Linked DNA regions of Homo sapiens: all the other regions are linked to region 1. The links are contacts of gene promoters, found by promoter capture Hi-C in human tissues and cell types (Jung and others, 2019). All regions are on one chromosome and are shown on one strand. Each heading gives the region's core, a stretch centred on a gene start or on the middle of the fragment in contact. The rest is flanking DNA. Distances are from core to core; before and after follow the strand shown.

Region 1 (3,852 bases), core at 386-2,885:
CAGTAAGTCCTGACTTCACCCCCTTTCTGGTAGCGGTCTGACGTTCCTTTGCAGAGTTTCGCTTCCATCGATAAGTTACTTTAAATAAAAAGTTAAAATAAAAACTAGAAGCCACAATTGTGCCTATGTCAGTCATCGAAGTCTTGTACAGGAGTCCGTCTTCGCAGCGCATCGTTCTCAGAAGTTTCCCGCGGGAGGAAAGCTCCACTTTATGAATTACTCGAACAGCTTCCCTGGGAATGCCCAGCCCCGAAGCTTCCCTGCTGAATTCAAAGTCAGAGCTCCCAGGGCTCGGTCCCAGGAACCGGGAGCCGTGCAAAAAGCGCGTACACTGCCATCCACTGGCCCCGAGCAGGTAGTAGCAGGAGTGAGGCGCCTGCCACGGGAGCTCAGGAACTGGGTCCCAGTAAGATCCGACAAGACACCACCTCCCTTCCGCCCGCACAGCCTGCCCTCTCTGCCTGCAGCTAGCGTCACCGGTCGGTCCCCGATTCGGAGCAGCTGGGACCCTCGCGGTAGCAAGCGGATTCCGGGGCCCTAATGACACCGAAGGAGAGGGGCAGCCGCAAATTAGACCTTCTTCCTGGGGGCTCAGGCCAGTAGGGACTGTCCGTGGTGCCCTTCCCTTTCTTTCTCCTCCTGAACGAGAGCCAACGCTGCCCCTTCCCAGGACTGGATCTGAGCCAACCAAATCCTACAGCGCAGAGCCTGCGCCCCCGGCGGCCAGCCCTCCTGTGCCTAGGCAGGTTCACGCCGGAGAAAGTTTGCACGCAGGGACCTACAAGTTCCCAGCACTCTGCAAGAGGGCCAGTTCTGGGATGCCAGCACTTAGGACGGGCGAGTGATCCCCAGGCACCAACTGGGGGCCGGGGAACCAAGCGCGAGCCCGGGCTGTGGAGGGACCGACACCCAGGCGCTCGCAGCTGGGGAAGGGGGCTTACGTCTGGGGCAGGCAAGACTGCTGCACAGTCCCTCCAGCCACCCGGCGCCCGAGACGCCGGCGCAGACAGGAAGCTGTAGATCCCCGAGGGGCTGGCTCCGACAGCTCCACCTGCAGCCTCCCCTGCCGCCAGTGTGCAGCCAAGTCCACTAGATGCTTGGAGGGCACCGTGCGGAGGAGGGACTCTGCAGGAAAGGTGGCATCACCCCCGGCATGGAGACCGGGGTCTCCGGATCGAGCCGACTCGAACACTGAAGGAAACCCTGCCCATGACCCTGGGAGGGTCTCGGACGCCGGGCGACCGGGGTGGTGGTCGGGACCAGGGCCGTGCGCCTGGGAACTGGGTGCAGGGCGCTGAGCGCGGAACTGTCAGAGCGGGAGCTCACCGGCGGCTGGGGAAGGAGGTGGCATCGGGCGGAGGAGAGGACGGGGGCGGGAGGGGCTGACCCTGAATTCACCGGGACTAAGAGGCCATCACACCTGGCTGCGGTAGGACAGCGAATCATCGATCTTACCGGCTTTGGGGACCCGGCTCTGCGGCAGCGCTCTTCCGGAGCGAGGGCAGGAGACTGTTTCATGGATAAAAAGTCTCGCTTATTCTTCTGTCCACTTTTATCTTGGTCGCTTTTCTCTCCTCTACGTGTCCCCCGGGGAGGCACTACGGATGATTTTCTCCAAGCTCAAGAGAGACAAACTGAACTTTAAGCGCCAGGGGCCCCATATTTTGTCTGCTCTACAGATCCCACCCGCGGGCCACACCCTCCCTTCACTCCCGTCTCTGGGTCCCACCCATAATAACCCGTAATGACAGATCCTCCGTGTCCCCACCTCTTTGCATTCAAAGAAGTTATTCTTCAGGGGCATATGGAAAGTCAGTTTCTGCTGGTCTCCCTCAAAAACTTACACTCCACGAGGGCAGCAGAAAAGGACAGGACGATTAAGTTTAAGTTGTGGAAGACTGGTTGGGAGCAAAAGAGTTACTTTTCTCCAAATTTGCCATATCACATCGAAAGCATTTTCTTTTAACCAGAGTGTAGCCAATCAAAATTAACTGCAGGCGCTGGCAATTAAAGAACAAGTTTATCTCAAAAAAGGTTTAACGTTTGGAGGCCATTATTTGCATCAGGCATATGGAAACTTGCGTTCTGTTAGGTATGCTGAAGAAACTGCTTTTGCCAGACTGCCTGAGTCTTTGCTGAGGCTGCAGGGACAAGGGAGAACCCCACCCTGACTGCTTCCAAAACCCTAGTTCCTGATTTCCTGCAGAGGGCACCTACAGGCTGAACCTAAAAGGCGAACAAATTCCTGCCTGTCATTCAAAAGCAGCTACCTTTTCTAAGGCAGCGTCAAGGAGGGCACTGGAGGTACTCAACACAGTAATGATTACTTTACCAAGTCCAAGGCAATTGTCAAATGTGGCAAAGAAAAACACTTCATTGGGTTTTTCTTAGAAATGATTTTTCATCCAATTTCAATCAAGATCTTAATGGAAATTTTGAAAATTACTCATGAGGTTATTTAATAAATCCATCCCCATTATTTAAAGAAAGCCATGTAAAGACAACAAAATATGGGCCAAGCACTTGTTCTTGAACATTATTGCTGAGAAAAAAATATGCATTTGTAAAATGGGGGGGGCAGTATTTTGTTTCTGAAGTGAGATCAAATGTAGAAAATATTGCATATGTATAGTAAAATGACTGAAACACTGATTCCATGTTATTCTAACATCCGATTTGTAAACCAGTATCTGACAAATTTATCATAATTCACAATAATTCAGTTCATATTATGTGGCAGGTGTCATACTAAGCACTTTACATGTATTCTTTCAGTTCCACCAACTACTCTGAGGAAGAAGCTATTATTTTTATTTTAGAGATAAGAAAGCAGATTCAGGGAGCTGAAGTGAAGTAACCAGCCTACGCAAGCTAGCAAGAAGCTGAGCTGGGATTCCCCCGAGGCAGTGACTTCTGGATTGTGTTCTTACTAAGATACTACCTCATCACACACCATCACCGCAGTGCCAGTCTGGGAATCAAGAACTGTGAGCAAATCACATAGTCTTTCTGGGCCACAGTTAACTCAGCCTATAACATAAGGGCTGGATTCAATTGCTAAGGTTTCTACAGGCATTCTGAGGCCAAGTACAAGTTTCTATTTCATCTTCTTTCTCTTCCACTTTCTGCCCTCTGGTGGAGGTGCTACAGGGACTATGAAATTAAAGTAGCTACGTCAGTGGATTTGAGATAGGGTCGATCAGTCTCCCTCACTTTTCCACTTTTAGTTCCTCTGAGAACTAAAGCTAATTGCATTAATGGTGTAAAATAAACATTTTTTAAACTTCCTTTTAGCAAGAAAACCCAACCAGTTCTAGTTACCAACAGCACCAGAATTAATACCTGAGGTATTCTTTGCATGAAGGTAATGACATAAAAAATGAGGGTAAAGATGTTTTATATTCTTTATAATAAACTTTTAAAATGTCAAGAATCATAAACTATTAGAAGTCTCAAAACATATTCAAACTGATTTGAATATGCAGTGTGCTCATTAAAATGTCAAGAATCATAAACTATTAGAAGTCTCAAAACATATTCAAACTGATTTGAATATGCAGTGTGCTCATAGTAATCTTTAATGACCTATTTGAATTATTCTTTAAAAAAAACTAGCTACATTTGCATTTCAGCTTCAAGTGACAACCATCATCTAGTTTCTTAAAATAATTTTACAAAAAGAAACATTTCTAGCCTATTGAAACTTTTATTGTCTAGCACTTCAAGCATACATCCAACTAGTTAGATAATTTAAAAGAAAACACACACAAACCTTGAAGAGATTTATGGAAAAATTAAAGATATTGAATATACCTCAGGAAACGGTGATTTTACAGAGCAAACTTCAGCCAC
Region 2 (3,852 bases), core at 913-3,412, 57 kb before region 1:
GACTTTTGGAATATCACTAAGACCTTGAGAAGCAGCTTAGGCAGACTTCAGACCCTCCAAGGTACCAACAAAATATTTTTTTCCTCTACAGCAGGTGCCCATAATCAGAATCCAAAGAACCAATGGCCCCTACATAAAATTTAGGCTGTCTATGAACTTGTATGGGGAAAAAATAACATCTCCATTTCCAATAACACCCAACTGAAATTTAGTATAATTAAATTGCCAATGTAGGCAACAACTATAGAAAAAATTAGAAATCAGATATTTCCATCAATATAGAGTTGTTACAAACATTTCAAGATATTATTTATGCTCATCCCTATTATAAAATAATGGTTATAGGTCGAGCACAGAGGCTCACGCCTGTATTCCCAGCACTTTGGGAGGCTGAGGCAGGCGGATCACTCAAGGTCAGGAGTTTGAGACCAGCCTGGCCAACATCCTTAACGGGTAAGAGATTTACCAGATTTCAGATATCTAATTAGACTCCCTTTCTCAAACTCTCCTCTAAGATAGTTGCCTGATGAGTAGTAATCCAGGTAAAACTCCAAGGCCTGCTCTGATCCTCTTAGCTGCATATTCTTTTTTTTTTCTTTTTTTTTTTTCTTTTTTAGATGGAGTTTTGCTGTTTCACCCAGGCTGGAGTGAAGTGGTGCGATCTCGGCTCACTGCAACCTCCGCCCCCAGGTTCAAGTGATTCTCCTGCCTCAGCCTCCCGAGTAGCTGGGATTACATGTGTTTGCCACCATGCCTGGATAATTTTTGTATTTTTAGTAGAGACAAGGTTTCACCATGTTGGTCAGGCTGGTCCCGAACTCTTGACCTCAGGTGATCCACCTGCCTCGGCCTCCCAAAGTGCTAGGATTACAGGTGTGAGCCACCGTGCCTGGCCAGCTGTATATTCTTGTAGAGCTCATGTTAAAGCTAATGAAAACATCTCATGTTAAAAACATAAAACTAAGAAGAAAGAACAACCTAAGGGTTTTGAATTGGTGCGTAAGCTTTCTACACCCAGTAACTTTTGGGTATGAGTTTAGGGCATTTCGGTCCATGTCTAGTTATCAATGTAAATAAATCACTGCAATTTAGACAGCATCATGGTCATCATCCAAATCATTTTTTCTTCAGAAAGAAGACTATGTAGTTCACTGAGGGGGAAAAAGCTAGATATAAAGTGAATTCCCATTATTGGGGAAATGGTTGAAATAAATTATGGTATAATGACAACATGGAATACTATTTAGTCATTATAACAATAGATTAGAATTAAGCTATTGCCTTGAAGATACTAACTTGAAGTATTCTTGGATGGGAAAGATATTTTGTAAAAAAAAAAAAGTAATAAAAACAATGACCCAAATCCTCTATGTGAATATTATCCTGTGTACATGTATGTGTATATGTTCATATAAGATTGTAAGAGGATGGAGAAAACTATAAAATCATACATATTTGGCTATTAGGTTCTTCTTAGGCAGAGGAAAGGAGAAGAAATGAAGGAATTTATGCAAAAATGGGAAATAAAAACTTCAATTACAAATAACATATATATCATAATCACATTCATACATTATATAAAAGAGAAAAATCAATTCCCCATATTGAAGGAAATGAAAAAGAAGAAATCAGAGTGAATAAATAAGGTAAAAACAATTGAGGAGTAGGAAATAATCCCAGAACAGCAAAGTAAGATCCTCCAAAAATCTACTCCTCCACAAAAGCAGTGAAAACACTGGGAAAAAAAACTGTCAAAGTTAATTTTTTTTTACTAGAGAGCATCTGGAAAGATGGTGGGATAGGAAACACCAGCAATCTGTCTCCCCACCTAGACAACAATTGCACTGGCAGAATCTGTCTGATATAACTATTTTGGAACTCTGGATTCTATTGAATGTTTGAAAGTTTCAGAGGTGGGACAGAGCAGTTAAAGGAACAGAGTTTTTGTTTGTTATTGAAGTTAAACTGGTATAAATTCAAGTTAGAGTGCTGTAACTTTAAGATGTTAAATATGATGCCAATGGTAACCATAAATAAAATAGCTATCGAATATATATATATCCTTTGAGATTTTATATATATATATATGACAAAGGAAATGAAAAAGGAATTTAAACGTTTCAATATTAAAAAAAAAACTAAACACAAAAGAAGGCAGTAATCCAGGAAATGAGGGATGAAAAAAAGCTACAAGGTATATAAAAAACAAATAGCAAAATGACAGAAGTAGGTCTTCATCAGTAATTACTTTAAATATTAATGGATTAAATTTTTTCAATCAAAAGACAGAGATTGGCAGAATGGGTTAAAAAAACCATAATCCAACTATATGCTGTCTACCACAGACTCACTTTAGATTCAAAGACACAAATAGGTTGTAAGTGAAAGGATACATAAAAATATTCCCTGCAAATAATAACCAAAAGAAGAGAGTGGGATGACTCACTTATGATGGTTTGACTTTTATAATTTTTCAACTTTACAATTGTGCAAAAGTGACACACATTTAATAGAAACTGTATTTTGAGTACTCATATAACCATTCTGTTTTTCACTTTCAGTAAGGTGTACAATAAAATACACGAGCTGTCCAATATGTTATTATAAAATAGGGTTTGTATTAGATGGTTTGTCCAACTGTAGGCTAATGTAAATGTTCTGAGCACATTTAAGGTGAAGGCTAAGCTAAGCTACAATGTTCTATAGGTTCGATGTATTAAATGTATTTTTGACTTACAATAGTTTCAACTTACAATGGGTTTATAAGGATATAACTCCATAATAAGTTGAGGAGAATCAGTATCCACAAAATAGGCTTTAAATCAACAACGGTGGCTGGGCGCAGTGGCTAACTCCTGTGATCCCAGCACTTTGGGAGGCCAAGGTCAGGAGATCAAGACCATCCTAGCCAACATGGTGAAACCGTGTCTCTAGTAAAAATACAAAAATTAGCCAGGCATGGTGGCATGCGCCTGTAGTCCCAGCTACTCAGGAGGCTGAGGCAGGAGAATCGCGTGAACCTGGAAGGCAGAGGTTGCAGTGAGCCGAGATCATGCCACTGCACTCCAGCCTGGGCAACAGAGCAAGACTCCATCTCAAAAAAAGAAAAATAAATCAAAAATGGTTAGAAGAAATAAAGAAGGACATTTTATATTAATAAAAGGTTCAATATAAAAAGAAGATACAACAATTGTAAATATTTACACACCTAATGACAGACCGTCAAAATGTCTGACGCAAAAAATTGATAGAACTGAAAGAAGGCCAGGCGCAGTGGCTCATGACTGTAATCTCAGCACTTCGGGAGGCCAAGGTGGGCAGATCACTTGAGGTCAGGAGTTCAAGACCAGCCTGGCCAACGTGGCAAAACCCTGTCTCTACTAAAAATACAAAAATTAGCCAGGCATAGTGGCGTGTGCTTGTAATCCCAGCTACTCAGGAGACTGAGTCAGGAGAATCGCCTGAACCCAGGAGGCGAAGGTTGCAGTGAACTGAGATCGTGCCACTGCACTCCAGCCTGGGCAACAGAGCAAGACTCCATCTCAAGAAAAAAAAAAAAAAAGAAAGAAAGAAAAAAAGACAAGAAACAGACAAATCTACAATAATAGTTGGAGACTTGAATACCCCACTCTCAATAATGGATAGAACAACTAGACTGAAGACAAGTAAGGAAACAGAGAAATAACACAATTCCACTTCTAGGTATAAACCCAAGAGAACCAGAAACGTTTTCACACAAAAACTTGCACGTGAATATTCACAGAAGCATTATTGATAATAGTTTTAAAAAATGTATATGCAATCCTAATTTCCAACAATGGATGACTGGATAAAGAAAATGTGATAGAGCCA
Region 3 (3,852 bases), core at 435-2,934, 41 kb after region 1:
AAAGTTCACCTAAAGAGTTTATTTCATTTGCTCTTCCTATGTGGTACACCTACAAAAATCTTCTATTTAAATAACATGAGTAGAAGAGCACATTGGGCTGGGAGTTAAAAGATCAGGCACAGTACTTTCTGATTTGCTACTCTCCTGTTGCAGAATCATGGACAAATCACAGAGCTTCAGTTTCCCTATCTGCAAAACAAAGAGTATACTTAGAATATGAGCTCCTTCCAGCTATGGCAGAAACAAAAAAAATCACTGAATCTACACTTACTAAATTATCTTCCTGGATCACTTCCAATATCAAGTTCTATCTTCTAGGAAAGACTATCTTAGTTAAGAAATACAGCAAGTCCATCTGTCAAATATCATACGCAGTTCTCATTTAAAAAGAAAAACAGAAGCTTTAACCCAGGAAGCAATTTGGGGATAATCCACAATAAATCTCTAATAGTCATATCAGCTTTGAAAATAAGCTTTTTCTGACTCACTCCGTATTCTGGAAATCTGGAAGAGGGAAGCCATACAGCAGCTACACCCTAACTAGTTAAAATGATTTTGTATCATTATTTGTTAGTTTGATTTTATAATTCTAGCATCTTTTTTGTTTTATCATGAGTACATTTTTGAGGGTCAAGGCATGGATCAATGAAGAAATTAAAAGCAATACATTTACACATGTTTGCACATGAAAAAGAAGAATACCTATGTTGTCATGTATTATAAATTAAAGACCAAAAAAATAACCTAACGACGCAACTAAAATTTTCAATAACATAAGTCATATTAATAATTTAAATAGTTGTAAATTTAATGTTAATAATAAAGTGACACTTAAAATTTTCTGGCCTATTTCTCATTTAGACACTAGTATTACAACTCCCTACAGAACGGAAGTCTAGAAAAAAATTATTTTAAAACTAAAGTTTAACACTAGCTACATTTGTTTTTCCTTGTAAGATGACAATTTTCAGAGATCTTTGAAAAGCTGAGTTCTCATACACTTGTAAAATGCTTTTAGTTAATTATACACACAGAAACACTGCTCATCTGTGATGCCATTTATTTTACTTTTAACAAAAGATTGGGAATTTATTTAAATTTATTAAAATTATGAACATCATCCATCCTGTGTGTCAGGTTTGAAAACTAACTTAGAGTAAATGCTCTAAACTCAGATATGAACAGAGAGAAATGGAGGTGATACTCTTACTTACTATCTAAGAAGATACATAACCTATGTATTTTTATCATAAAACCATATCCTATGTATTAACACAGGTACAGTATGTAAAGGGTTCCACATTAAAAGGCACATTATTATGAGCTGGAATAAAGACACAGAACTATACACACCAAGCTGTCTAAGGCCAGCTGTCTTAGGAAAGGAAAAGAAGGAGAAGGGATGAGGGCAAAAAAAGAGACAGGAAGCTAAAGCAAAACAGAAAAATATTTATGGTATAACTGTTGAAAAAACGTTTCAAGAATACTATGGGCAGATATACATTCAATCTAAGAACATTACCTTGTTTTTTCCAGTGCAGCCATCAGTTTTGGTTACTTTGTGGCATTCTTTCATACATGTGTGATTCTGACAATCCAAGATTCTTCCACAAACTCTTTTACAAGAGTAGGGTCCTACAGCATGGCATGGTAGTGGACTCACCTTAAAAAATAAAGGAAATCAGCACAGCACACATTACTCAAACGTTTCTGGACATATTATATGTTTCCAAAATTACTCTGCTATCATTTGAGAACAAGTTTCAGAAAGGTATAAGTTTGCACGAATAATAATAATATCAAAATCAAAGTAACCTGTCAAAATATTTCAAAGTAATGAATGCCAAGAAGCAAAATGTTCTCCTCCTAAAAGGAAAATTCAATATGATTCTGTAGTGAATGCATATCCACAGGCTAATTCTCAAATAAAGGCACTACATATTTTTTAAATTAGTAGATAAACTCTTGTACTCTTTATAACAGTAAAATAACAATACTTTGACTTTGTTATTTCTAACAACTCTAGTAAAGTTATACTAGTATGTAACAGTATAGATTATAAGCTTTACTTAAAAATTGTGCCTGTAACTTACCTCATGTTTCCCAAGACATTCCCTACAAGGAAAAAATAAAATAAAATGAAAACATTACAAATTATTCAAAAATAATACCTAAAGATGCTAACTCTACTAGCATTAAAAAAATAAATACATATGGAATAAGCAATTATAGTAAAGTTACAGGACACGAAGTTAATATACAAAGGTCAACTGATTTCCTATATAGTAGCAATGAGCAATTAGAATTTGAAGTTAAAAACATAACACTACATTAGCACAAAAAATGAAATACTTGGGTATGAATTTAACAAAATATATACAAGATCTCTATGGGACAACTACAAAATACTGATGAAAGAAATCAAAGATTTAAATAAATGAAGCAATATTCCATGTTCACAGTTATGAAGGCTCAAAATTATTAAGATGTAGTTTATTTCCAATTTGATCCAGATTCAACATGATTCCAATCAAAATCCCAGCAAGTTATTTTGTATATATCAACAAACTGATTCTAAAGTCTATATAGAAAGATAACAGACCCAGAACAGCCAACACAATACAAAAGAAAGCAAAGTCCAAAGACTGACACCACCCAACTTCAAGAATTACTATAAAGCTACAGTGATCAAGACAGAATGGTACTGATTAAAGAATAGGCAAATAAATGAATGGAAGAGAACAGAGAGACCAGAAATGGAACCACACAAATCATAGTCTACTGATCTTTGGCAAAAGAGCAAAGGTAATTGAATGAAGAAAGGAAATTCTTTTCAATAAATGATTCATGCTGGAACAAATAGACACCTGCTTGCAAAAAAAACCTAGGCAGACCCTAAGCCTTTCACAACAGTTAACTCAAAATGAATCACAGCTCTAAATGTAAAATGCAAAACTATAAAACACAGACAATCTGGGTAATTTGGGTTTAATTATGACTTTTAGATACAACACCAAAAGCACAATCCATGAAATAAAAATGGATGATAGACGTCATTATACTAAAAATTACAGCTCTGAAAAGAACATTTAGAGAATGAAAAGCCACAAAGGCTGGGTGCAGTGGCTCACACCTGTAATCCCTACACTTTAGGAGGCTGAGACAGGAGGATCACCTGAGCACAGGAGTTTCAAGCCCAGCCTGAGCAACATAATGAATCCCTGTCTCTACAAAAAATTAAAATTAAAAAAAATTAGCTGAACATAATAGTGCACGCCTAGTCCCAGGTACTAGGGGGTTGGGGGTAGAGCTGAGGTTGAAGGATCATTTGAGCCCAGGAGGTGCAGGCTGCAGTGGGCTGTGATGAAGCAACTGCACTCCTTCTCCATGAAAAGCCTGGGTGACAGAACTGAGATCCAGTCTCAAAAAAAAAAAAAAAAAAAAAAGGTTAAAAAGATAAGCCACAGACTGGCAGAAAATACTTGGAAAATGCACAGCTGGTAAAGGACTTGTCTTCAAAATATACTCAATAAGAAAGCAAATAACGCAATATAAAAATGAAAAAAAAAAGAATTTGTGGAAACTCTATGTGGAACACATGTATCAGTGCCATATTTCCTATAGCATGTGCTCACTTCATGTCTCTATGACAATTTTCATATAATTCTTGCATTATTTCAAAGTTTTTCTTTTTTATTATATCTGTTATTGTGATCCGTAATCAGCGATCTTTGATGTTACTATTGGATTCTTTTGGGGTGCCACAAACTGTGCCCATAGTAAACAGTAAACCTAATTAATGAGTAAAAAAAAAAAAAAAAAAAAAAACGCAAAAAGGAACAGGAAATTAAA

Evidence for each region. Contacts are between HindIII fragments. The study calls those that stand out against the background at their distance.
Region 2: a contact is called between a fragment that was not itself captured here and the fragment with the promoter of CORIN in region 1, in 1 of the 25 tissues and cell types used here (pancreas).
Region 3: a fragment that was not itself captured here is called in contact with the fragment with the promoter of CORIN in region 1 in 1 of the 25 tissues and cell types used here (hippocampus).

Annotation. Positions count from the first base shown.
Region 1 is chr4:47,836,432-47,840,283 of GRCh38, forward strand. It overlaps CORIN (corin, serine peptidase), which reads right to left and starts at 1,636. Exons shown (of 22, transcript NM_006587.4): 1 at 1,456-1,636. The coding sequence starts at 1,518. The region is part of intron 1 of LOC101927179 (a long non-coding RNA gene); the gene reads left to right. The HindIII fragment of the contact is 9,769 bases long and covers 1-3,852 here.
Region 2 is chr4:47,778,841-47,782,692 of GRCh38, forward strand. All of the region lies in intron 3 of CORIN (corin, serine peptidase), which reads right to left. Among named protein-coding and RNA genes, the nearest start is that of CORIN, 57 kb to the right of the region's middle. The HindIII fragment of the contact is 4,404 bases long and covers 1-3,852 here.
Region 3 is chr4:47,877,003-47,880,854 of GRCh38, forward strand. NFXL1 (nuclear transcription factor, X-box binding like 1) reads right to left here. Exons shown (of 23, transcript NM_001278624.2): 16 at 2,094-2,115; 17 at 1,523-1,663. The region is part of intron 2 of LOC101927179 (a long non-coding RNA gene); the gene reads left to right. Among named protein-coding and RNA genes, the nearest start is that of NFXL1, 36 kb to the right of the region's middle. The HindIII fragment of the contact is 5,360 bases long and covers 1-3,852 here.